Linked DNA regions of Homo sapiens: regions 1 and 3 are each linked to region 2. The links are contacts of gene promoters, found by promoter capture Hi-C in blood cells and fetal thymus (Javierre and others, 2016). All regions are on one chromosome and are shown on one strand. Each heading gives the region's core, a stretch centred on a gene start or on the middle of the fragment in contact. The rest is flanking DNA. Distances are from core to core; before and after follow the strand shown. Region 1 holds the start of CRYBG3 (crystallin beta-gamma domain containing 3). Region 2 holds the start of CMSS1 (cms1 ribosomal small subunit homolog). Region 3 holds the start of SENP7 (SUMO specific peptidase 7).

What was found. The method cuts DNA at HindIII sites, captures the fragments that hold promoters and counts their contacts. A CHiCAGO score of 5 or more calls a contact.
Region 1: a contact is called between the fragment with the promoter of CRYBG3 here and the fragment with the promoter of CMSS1 in region 2, in 4 of 17 cell types (naive CD4 T cells, total CD8 T cells, activated CD4 T cells and 1 more). The highest score is 6.4, in naive CD4 T cells.
Region 3: a contact is called between the fragment with the promoter of SENP7 here and the fragment with the promoter of CMSS1 in region 2, in 3 of 17 cell types (total B cells, naive B cells and fetal thymus). The highest score is 8.2, in total B cells.

What each region holds. Positions count from the first base shown.
Region 1 is chr3:97,819,982-97,823,866 of GRCh38, forward strand. It overlaps CRYBG3 (crystallin beta-gamma domain containing 3), which reads left to right and starts at 2,030. Exons shown (of 22, transcript NM_153605.4): 1 at 2,030-2,374. The coding sequence starts at 2,226. LOC101929298 (a long non-coding RNA gene) reads right to left here and starts at 1,795. Exons shown (of 3, transcript XR_427389.3): 1 at 1,706-1,795. RefSeq lists a silencer at 1,807-2,176. The HindIII fragment of the contact is 1,453 bases long and covers 1,408-2,860 here.
Region 2 is chr3:99,815,737-99,819,224 of GRCh38, forward strand. CMSS1 (cms1 ribosomal small subunit homolog) reads left to right here and starts at 2,126. Exons shown (of 10, transcript NM_032359.4): 1 at 2,126-2,307. The coding sequence starts at 2,244. It overlaps HP09053 (a long non-coding RNA gene), which reads right to left. Exons shown (of 3, transcript NR_110821.1): 2 at 3,184-3,238; 3 at 896-2,736. LOC105374010 (a long non-coding RNA gene) reads left to right here and starts at 2,126. Exons shown (of 5, transcript NR_189163.1): 1 at 2,126-2,307. RefSeq lists a silencer at 1,807-2,561 and enhancers at 1,977-2,851, 2,083-2,392. The HindIII fragment of the contact is 550 bases long and covers 1,988-2,537 here.
Region 3 is chr3:101,511,601-101,515,410 of GRCh38, forward strand. SENP7 (SUMO specific peptidase 7) reads right to left here and starts at 1,612. Exons shown (of 24, transcript NM_020654.5): 1 at 1,491-1,612. The coding sequence starts at 1,530. The HindIII fragment of the contact is 4,750 bases long and covers 1-2,379 here.

The DNA of each region.
Region 1 (3,885 bases), core at 780-3,279, 2.0 Mb before region 2:
AGAGACTGTGCCAGCAGGGAGCCAAGAAACTTGAGCCTCATCGGCTTCACTGTAGATGTGCTTCTACTGCAGGCACTCACTAAACGTCGGGGAATAACTGGATCAGTGAATTAATGACACTGTGCTAAATTAGTATCTCTAAGATCCTTACAGCTCTAAAATTTGACATTTTTACAGGCTTCCTAATGCAATCTTAGAATTTAGTATTTAGAAATTTGTTCATATGAGTTCAGGTTATAACAATGTAGGACATATAGAAAACTAATAAGTGCTCAGAAAGCAAATGAAGGAAAATTCAATGGTCATTGTTTTATGACTTTAAGCTATTTTGTCATAGACGCAATTTGTCTTAGTGTAAACATGGCATTATTTGTATTTACCATTCACTTAAGTGCTTTGCTGTGCTACCGAGTGGAGATCAGAGTATTGTTAGATATATTATTAGTTAAAACCATAATTCATTAATTAAATCCTATTGACTCCCCCCCATTTTTATTCCAAGAAAAACTTCCTGAACGAAGTACCCTCTGGGTAGGCACTGGGGCCTGGTTTGATCACAGAACAAGTCAGGGACAAATGTGATAGTCATTCAATAATACGTTGGGAAGACAAATTATCATTTGGGCCTTTTAGCTGGAAGAAACAGTTTGCTTTATTACTCTCTTTGGGCTTTTTGGTAAGTGGGTCTTCAGTGGAGATTCTCTTATAAAATAATAAAGCTAGAATTGGGAACTTGTCTTATTCTAGTCTATTATCTTAGTCTTTTTCTATTTTCTCAGACTAGGCTCACAGAGAAATAGGAAAAATTTACCAAAGAGTAAAAAAGGATTAATCTTGAGGGATAGACTGAGATGAACCCGATTGATGGAAATCGGGCTGACTGAACTTTAATGGGTTAAATCCTGCCAGAACAAATGAGAATGAGTGTCTTGGCTCTATTGCAGTTAGTAGGAGCTGGAGGGCTTCTGGGAGGCAGCGTGGGGAGGCAGGGAGGCTCAATAGCCTCCAGCAGGTGCTGAAAGGACTTGGGGCTTATAGGTATGCAATCTACTTATGAGCAACCTTCTCCTCCAGCACCCGAAAGCCAGAGGGGAGATTACTCCAAGGCTCCCCTCTGCTGTGGACATTTCATTTTTATCTCATTTACTTGTATACATTTTTTAATGAACAAAAGCCATATCACTTCCTTGACGTCTACTCCAGGGGCAGCTTGCCTTCAAACAAAAACAAAACACTTGGGGTGAATGGGCCTCTCAGTATCTCCTGTACTAGCTGCTATAGGGTATGAAAAACCAAGAAAAATCCATACCACTGTACTTAGACTTAAAACAAGTCTTAAGCACCCTTTGGTTCCCAGATTTCAGTGGCATCTGTGTAACGACTGCAAAATATGTTGCAGCATTGACAAGCTTGAAATCATACTTTTTGATCAGTGCCGTTTTTGAAAGAGTTCGCAGGGAAGTATGGCGTGTGAAAAGTCTGAAGCACAGCGCGGTTAGGAAAAGTCACACCACAGAAAGCCAGCAGAACGCGCCGGGAGGTGGTGACCGCCTGACAGGTACCCCCTTCTCCCTCCCGCCGCCCGGTTCTGTGCTAACGCGACTTTCGCCCTCAGGGTTGGAGCTGTATTTGCGGTAGCTGTTTCTTAGCTCCCAGCAAGTCCGGGGCGCCCCGGTACTGCAGTTTGCCAAGTGTTTTCACAAACCTTAGTTCATAAACCTCTTTCAAAAGCCCGAAGAAAACCGTTTCTGTGCTCTGACTGTAGAATAGAAAACACAACGGTCACAGAAAGTAATTGAAGGCAAAGCCCAACAGGCTGCAGCCTGAACTTGTTTGAGCCGTAAGCCCGAGCCTAGCGTCGCACGCTGGGCGACTCCCCTCAGGCTCTCAGGCCGGCGCCTTCGGGGGACCACGTAGCGCCCCAGCGGTGGCGGCTGCGCCCGGCTCAGGGCGGTGCCGCGGCCACTGGCTCCTCCTCGGGGTGGGGCGGGCCGCGCCGGGCGAGGGCGGGAGGAGGAGCAGCCGCAGCGGCGTGAGGAGCTGCCGCGCGAGGAGCGCGTCGCGTCCGCACTTCTCCTGCCCGAGAGAGACTGAGCCGCGCTGGCAGCTCGCGTCGAGTCGGTCTGCCCTAGCCGCATCCCGCGGCGCCCGGTCGGGCTCCGGGCACCAGGCAACACCTAGGCCGTTCCCTTCAGACAGCCCCGGGCCAGCGGCCCCCTCGGGAAATGTCCAGCGGCCGCAGAAGGGGCAGCGCCCCCTGGCACAGCTTCTCCCGGTTCTTCGCTCCCCGAAGTCCTTCCCGGGACAAGGAAGAGGAAGAGGAGGAGAGGCCGGGGACGAGCCCGCCTCCAGCTCCAGGCCGGTCCGCTGCCAGGTGGGAGTCGAGGAGGGGGTCGCGGGGGGGCCCTGCACATATTCGCGGGATGAAGGCTCCCGGCCTGACCGCCGGCAGCGGGCCGCTCTTGGGCCAGGCTGCAGTTCGCTCGCCACTTTCTGTTCTCCTTCCTCCATTGCTAAAGTTTCCTCCTCCTTGCCCCGTTCCCGTGCCGCACTACTCGCCTCTCCTCTGCAGGTTAAATCGGGGTGAAGTTCTTGCCCGGCAGCCGGACGCATATCCCCCGATCCCCGCCTGGCTCCGCGCTCTTCCTTTCCCACTTTCCCCTGCCCGGACGTGATTGGGTTCCCGTTCCACACACGCTCTACTCTCCAAGTTCTGTGGCAAAAGCGATTTCCCCGGCGTCCCGCCTGCAGTAATGGGAAACACTTGTGAGCCGAGCGGAGCCGTCGGCCAGGGGAATTGGGGGCGCGATCCCAGCACCACTTGTGTGGGAGGAGATCGGGGCAAAAGTGGAAAAGGTAAAGCTTTGGGGCGTCACCCCCTCAGCTGGTATTTTTGCCATCTTATTTAAATTTTCTCAAAATGATTTTTAAAAGGAATTGTGATAATGCGTTCCCAAGACTTTCACCAAAATGGACTGGACATGTAAATGACGCCACCCTTCTTTATTTCTCATCTCTCCTAGAAACATCTGCCTCAAGTTCCCAAACAGATTCTGGAAATCAGGTTTCCAGCTGTCTTGGTTTCAGTAATCAAAATGTACCCTTTCTCTGTAATATTTTTATCTTTCCTTCACTTTCCCATGTTCAAAAATCAAAAAATTTTAGACATGCCTCATTTAAATGCCTGTTTCTGAGTCTTTTCATCCCCCCGAAGAAAGAGGGGTTAAGTAAAACGCAGCTCGCTTTCTTAAACTTATGAGAGGCTTACACTGTCTTCTCCCGAGATTGCACTAGAATGACCATTGTCATTGGAAGGACACACTCCAGAAAACCGTGTTTACTTCGGACTCAAGATTTCCTGGTGGGCTTAAAAAAAATGGATAGGAAACAGAACTGAGAGTGAGCCAATTCCATTAGTATTCAGATTTTGTGATGTGATTTTAGTCGTTTGTGTGTTCCTCGGTTTCCCCGCTTGTGAAACATTTTCATTATGACCGTCTGTTAATAACATGCCACATGTTTCCAAGAAAGCTCCTACGATAATTGAGTGGTTATTCTCCTGGGACGTTTCAGCTATTATTGCTCTGACTGTTGAGAGTTTAAAATTCAAAGTTACACAGAAGTTAAAAATAGTTTTTAAGTCTGACAGATCTCATCCAGGGTGTCAGCTAGTTCTGTTGGTGTGGGCAGACAGCCTGTGGTGCCTGCCACCGCCGTAACAGCACTAACAGTCTTGGATAATATGAACGCAGTCTGCAAGGAAATCCCAAGTAGGCGCAGCAAAAGTTGGGAACTTGAGAGTCAGTGTTAGAAAGGAGTAAGCAGGTCAAATTCAGGCTCATGTCAGTAATGGCCTGAAATCCTGCTTGCCTCTCTGCCCTATTT
Region 2 (3,488 bases), core at 876-3,375:
CAACTTAGGTTGGCTATTCAATATAATCTGGGGTCAGTAAACTTTTTTCTGTAAAGTTAGAGCAAATATATGAGGGAATAGTAATAAATAGTAAATATATGAGGGCTACAGTCTCTGCTGCATATTTTTCTTTACGTTTTTGTTGTTGTCGTTGTTGTTTTGTTCTGTTTCTTACAATGCTTTAAAAATGTAAAAAATGGCTGGACACAGTGGCTTAGGCCTCTAATACCAACACTTTGGCAGGCTGGAGTGGGAGGACTGCTTGAAGCCAGGTGTTAAAGACCAGCCTGGGCAGCAAAATGAGACGCCATATCTACAAAAAACAAAAACAACAACAAAATAACCAAGAATGGTGGCATGTGCCTGTAGTCCCAGCTACTCGGGAGGCTGAGGCGAGGTGGAATATAATGTAAGACCATTCATAGTTCATGGTACAAAACAGGTATCAATTCCCATTAATGCATAGACACTCCATAATTTAGTATTGCCAGACTTCTTTTTTTTTTTTTTTTTTTTTTTTTTGAGACCGAGTTTCGCTTTTGTCAACCAGGCTGGAGTGTAATGGCACCATCTCGGCTCACCGCAACCTCCACTTCCCGGGTTTAAGCAATTCGCCTACCTCAGACTCTCAAGTAGCTGGAATTACAGGCGCCTGCCACCATGCCCGGCTAATTTTTGTATTTTTAGTAGAGATGGGTTTCGCCATTTTGGCCAGGCTGGTCTGGAATTCTTGACCTCAGGTGATTCACCCACCTCGGCCTCCCAAAGCGTTGGGATTACAGGCTTGAGCCACCGCGCCCGGCCCATACTTCTTAATTTTGTGATTTATTGCCTGAAAAACGGTCTCGCTGTGGTGTTTTTTTTGTATTTCCCAGATTAATAATCAGACTGAATTCTTTTCATGTTTATTAGCCATAGCAACTCCTCTTCCACACTGGCATTTCTTATCTTTTTCAAAAATCTATTAATCACGAAAATCTCGTCATCTACATTTCTTCACAAAAGCCATATTACTTTTGATCTTTATAGATTATTTTACATTTGCCATATTTATACATAATATCTTCCCTTTTGGGGCATTTAGAGTGTGCGGACAAAGTCTAGGCAGTAATGCATTTATAAAACATCTATGAGTTGGGTGCACACGGGGTAATTTTCCACATATGGCTAATCCTAGCCTCATCAGATTAAGTTTCCCTGTCTTGTCATTTCCGAGGATGTATCCTATTAGAAGTCTAGCCCTTTATTCCTACAAATTGAATTTCCACTACTGTAGGCTAACATCTGAATGGACTCATCTTACTATTCCATGCATAGTACCAGGCACGTTGCGTGCTTTTACTACATTTTGTATAATTTTTACGTCTGTGTTTGATGTCCTGAAAAATACCGTCCACAATTACTTCACAGCTAGCCCCAGCACTTGGCGCCCAGCGGGTTTTCCTAGTCCCTCCCTGCCAAATCACGTTGGGACTGAGACAAGAGGCACTGCGGGTCTCTTACCTATAGTTACGAAGCAATGGACTCCCTTATTACTTCGTTTCCCAAATAGGGGGTGGGACACACAACCGAGGGAGTATGAGGAAAACAACTTGCGGGTCTTCGAGCCACTTGCGTCTTTCTGTGGGCGAGCCTTTCCAGGCCAATTACATTTTCTTTACTCATATTGCATAAATAGCAGAACTACATTTACCACAAAGGCCCGACATTCATGGTCATGGATCCTTGCGCATGTTTTCTAAGAGCAAACTGTACAAACACATAAACTCTGAAACACTGACGCACAAGCGAAAACACACGCACATGTTTGGGTCTTCTCCCGCTGCGCAAGTTCTTTGAAACTGAGCGGAGAAAAATCGTCTTCACATGGTGTCTCACACTTTCGACACAATCTTATCGGGAAACGTAACACGTAAACAAAATTTTTTAAAATGCATTATCAAAAACGATGACAATCCCTTTCGTCTTATGTTCCTTTTTGTCTTTAAGCTTTGGGGGGATTTATGTTGCGTTTCCAAACTGCTTCTGCCTGTCGGCGCCTGTGTGGAAACTGCGACGAGTCTGGGAGCGGCTGCCGGAGAGGCGGGGCAGAGGTGTGACGTCATCGCCGCGGGGCGGAGGCGACAGTGTCTAGCGGGAGCTCCGCGTGTAGCTACGCCGGCCGCCTGGCTTTGAGACAACGTGATTCTCCGCAGCTGGTCGCCTACCCGTGATGTTCTGCCCACGTCGAGACCTGAGCTGAAATGGCAGACGATCTCGGAGACGAGTGGTGGGAGAACCAGCCGACTGGAGCAGGCAGCAGCCCAGGTACCCACTCTGTGCCCGCGCTCCTACGGGGCCTCTCCCGGAGCCCTTCCGTGCGCCTCAGCCCTGGTCGCTTCTGGCGATCGCGGTGTTTGCCCAGCAGGGGTGTGCACCGCCTTGGGAGCGCGCAAGCATCTCGGGGAAAATGGTGCAAGAGATTCTTTAACACGTGAAACAGACAGCTGTGACATTAACTCAGATCTGTCTGCCAGCCAGGAAGGATCCTTTCCACAAGCTTTCTCTTTTCCTTATTTCTTGAGAATGGATAAGACAGTTTTTGTGAAGAGAGGCAACTTTGTATGATGGTTAAGGGTGACCCATGAACTGCTTTCAATTCAGACTGAGGTCAGAAGCAGGGGTTGCTGCTTCAGACTCCCTCCATTCAAATCACGACTCCAGTATTCTGATACTGTTTAGCCTCCTTTTCCTCATCTGTAAAATAATGATAACAATAATGTCCATTTCGTAAAGTTGTGAAGATTAAGTGAAGTTAGTACAGTAATGCACTTTAGCATAGTGCTTGACATATAATGTGTGGTAAATATAAGTTACTGTATTTCTTGTGGTCATCATCATTATCATGGAATTTGGAATAGTAGAACTGGAAGGAGGCTTAAATAGAGATCATCCTTTGAACTCACTTATTTTACAGATGAGAAACATAACCTAAAGATGTCAAGTAACTTGACAAGTTCACAAAGCTAGCTCCTTTCAGAAACAATACTAGAATTCAGTTAACACAATTTGAATAGTTTCTACTATGCTCTGCTGTGTTTACCAACTCCTGATGCAGTGGGCATTTCATCCCCAAGTAGAGTAGCGTTAAGTGACCCCCCATGTCAGGCTAGCCTTGAACTTTTTAAGTTCCATCACACCTACCATGCAATTATTGGTTGGTTGGTTTTTATCACTCCTCAAGGTCTGCCTCTTTTCTCTACAAGAGAAGACAGGGCCAAAGTCAGATTCATACTTCTGTCATCCACAGGGCCCTGCACATGTTAGACACTTGATACCTATTTGCTGCAAACAATCTTGAAATACTAGTTGTGAAATATCCATTAAAAATAACCAACTTCATTTGTTGCATTGTTTCCGGAAGGTCAAGCCTTCAGGTACAAACTAAGCAGATGTCATTTTTAGAAAGGTAGCCAATACAACATTTCCTTGATTAAACTTCCTGACTC
Region 3 (3,810 bases), core at 362-2,861, 1.7 Mb after region 2:
GCTTTCAAAGGAAAAAACTATTATCTCCAGAATATACACCAAGAACATCGATAACATTGGTTGCATATGAAAAGGGATTTCAGGTTTTCAACTGCTTCAAGCAGTGTCCCCAGAGATCCATAATCACTCTCCTTTGCAATTAAGGCTGAAAGCAGTTTGAGATGCACTGCCACAGGGCACTCCTAAATAAATTTGGAATTGGTTTTTTTTGTTTTTTTTTTGTTGTTGTTGTTGTTTGATACAGAGTCTCGCTCTGTTGCCCAGGCTGGAGTGCAGTGGTGCGATCTCGGCTCACTGCAAGCTCCGCCTCCCGGGTTCACGCCATTCTCCTGCCTCAGCCTCCTGAGTAGCTGGGACTACAGGCGCCCGCCACCACGCCCGGCTAATTTTTTGCATTTTTTAGTAGAGACGGGGTTTCACAATGTTAGCCAGGATGGTCTCGATCTCCTGACTTTGTGATCCGACCGCCTCGGCCTCCCAAGGTGTTGGCATTACAGGCGTGAGCCACCGCGCCCGGCCAATAAATCTGTAATTGTTAACTGTCTCTGCAGAAACCAACGGTACCATCAGAAACAGAAAAATGAAATGAAATAATTGATTCATTGGGCGTTCGTTTGTGTACTGGACTGTAAGCATATGAGTCCTCGTCCTCTCCTCCTACCATCCATAGGACTTAACACAAGGACTTGAGGACCCCCTAATGGATGAAATGTTTGATAAAAACTTCTCAACTGGGAGGAGCTCTACCTCACGTTTTTATAACTCCACTTTCTTGTTTCCAAGACGTTGTACACAAAACTGAAGATAGTCATTTAAAACAAAGTAACGTCCAAAACAAAAAATATGCTGAAAATAAAAACACAACGAAAGCACGGCTTCAAATCCTTTGTTTGACTTTCCAATCACTTTTGGAAGACGCAGGGTAGGCTGGAAAAGAAAAAGGCTATTAGGCGGGCCTGTTCAGCAGAACGAGACCCGGAGAGGCATTGTATCAAAGAAAAGGAGTCTCCGGTCGCAAGCCCCACCTTTCCTCCCCAGCAGCAGCTACCTGCTGAGGGAAAGAGGAGGGAGAGGGGAAGGGACGCAAAGTCGAGAATCAAAGGAAGAGAGGAAAGTGGGGTCAGGCGCTGAGAAGCCGAAATGAAATTGGAACATTGGTGGAATTACGAGGAAGGCGTGGCAGAGAGTGACAAGCCAACCGGGAAGATCCATGGGCCGATGAGACGCAAGGAGGGTGTTCGCGGGAGGAGGGAAAAAATAAAAGGGGTTTTGAGGTGAAGAGCGCCCGAGGCTTCGATGACAGCTCGGACCGGGTCTTCGACTCCAGGGGCGGGGGCGACCCGGGAGCCTTCCATTGTGCGCGCCCCTTCCTCTCCCCGCCCCCGCCCTCGCCCCCGCGGCTTCGGGCCGCAACCCCAGCTGCCGCCTGCGCCTCCCGTTTCCCCCGGGTAGGAGACAATATGTTCAGCCCTTCTCTGACCCTTTCTCACCGGATGAAGATGGCCGTCGCCCGAGCTTTCTCTTGTCCATCTTCTCCCGCTGCTGAAATTTCAGTTGCAGGCGCTGTCACCTCAGGACCCCTCCGGCTTGGAGAGGGAGGGGGAGGGGAAAGGAAAAAAAAAAAAAAAAAAAAAAAAAAAAAAAAGCCCGCAAAGTGCGAAGCGCGCTTGCGCAAGAGCCGTCGCCTGCCCTTCGACCGGAAATCAGCCGCCCCTCCCACCTTCGACCGGAAATCACTTCCTGGGACTTTTCACTGTGGGCTGCCTCTTCCAGCGTTTTTTTGGTGGCGTTTATTTCATGATCTGAGCCCCTCTGGGGAGGTGAACCACCTGGGTGCTCGATTTTAGCTTTGTTGACTTTGAAGATTAGATTGACAAAAATTAAAAGGGAAAAACAGGAACTCCTCCGGTTCACTGGATCTCGCGAGGTGGCCAAACAACTATGAAAACAAAACGTTAGCGTTTGCAGTATTACATCCCTCACAGCCTCTCTTACATATTTGCCCCCAACGCCTTTCCTCGAACTCAGAAACCAAAAGATTTTAAGATGGCAAAATCACCTAATAATAGCCTAGCTATTAGTTTAGCATTTGCTGTGGAAATATGTCAGCAGACGAGGAAAAATGTCTTAGGATTCCTTTTTAAAATTCGAACTTGTGATTTTTAAAGTTCCTTAAAAGAAAAGCTAGAACTTAATTTTTCAATAACTGAAATGCTGATATGACAGAAAGTGGGTGGCTATAAACTTGGAATTTGTTCAATTAACATTTACCACGATACTTAAGGGACTAATCCAGTCCTCAATGAACTCAAGGTCTGGTACTATTAGCCTGATTATCCCTAATGGTGCATATCTGAATAATTTTTAAATGCACGTGTAAGCTTTCATGACGATTTAATCACAAGTTTAACAAAATTCAGCACAGTGCTCTAAGCAGGGAAAATGTTTCTGGCATGTTCAAAGCCCGAAGGGACTCTGGAAGTAGGGTTTGATTCCCAAGCTGGCCCCTTTATACCCCTAACGCCTATCCCTCCAACCCCCATCTCCCATCCTAACGGAGTCAATAAAGGGATCGGCCCAACTCGTCCACTAGAGCAGTCCCCTTCATCGTGAGTTAAGCCTTCTTAATTATAATGTGGTCAGTCCCCAGGTAGAGGTAAGGCCCCAGGTGTTGTGGGGTGTTGGGCCTGGGGAAGTGTTCTACATGGCAGGAATGACTGCAAAGCAGAAATACTTTAAGTCTTGCTGGGATTGAAGTTTACTGTAAGGATTTCGTTTTATTTGGTTAATTTCTGTTTAACAAAAACATTGCTTTCTGAAAAATAATTGAATTTTCAGTTTCCTCACAAATTAACTTTTTTTTTTTTTTGAGACGGAGTCTCGCTCTGTCGCCCAGGCTGGAGTGCAGTGGCACAATCTCGGCTCGCTGCAAGCTTCACCTCCTGGGTTCACGCCATTCTCCTGCCTCAGCCTCCCGAGTAGCTGAGACTACAGGCGCCCGCCACCACGCCCGGCTAATTTTTTGTATTTTTTAGTAGAGATGGGGTTTCACCATGTTAGCCAGCATGGTCTCGATCTCCTGACCTCGTGATCCGCCCGCCTCAGCCTCCCAGAGTGCTGGGATTACAGGCGTGAGCCACTGCGCCTGGCCCAAATTAACTTTTTTAACTAAAGAACTTAACTGATTCTAAAGTCAAGCTGGGCCGGACACAGTGGCTCGCGTCTGTAATCCCAGCACTTTGGGAGGCCGAGGCAGAATAGATTGAGCCAAGACATTCCAGACCATCCTGGGCAACAAAGCAAGACCCCCCTCTCCACAAAAATATACAGGCCAGATGCTATGACTCACCCTTGAGCCCAGGAGTTTGATACCAGCCTGGGCAATATAGTGAGACCTCCTCTCTACAAAGAAAAAAACTAGCCACACGTGGTGGCGCATGCCTGTAGTCCCAGGTACTCAAGAGGCTAAGGCAGGAAGATCACTTAAGCCCATGGAGTTAAAAGTTGCAGTGAGCCTTGATCAGGCCACTGCATTCCAGCCTGGGCGACAGAGCCAGACTGTCTCGGAAAAAAAAAAAAAAATGACCCGGGCACGGTGGAGCACACCTATAGTCCCCGGCTACTGGGGAAGATGAGATTTAAGGATTACTTGAGTCCAGGACTTTGAGGCTGCAGTGAGCTATGATCGCTACACGGTACTGCGGCCTGGGCGACACACAGATACCCTGTCTCCAAAAAACATAAAAAATAAACTTCCCAGACGATTCTGTTGCATACTCCAATTTGGTAAAACCAACACTTAGTGACATC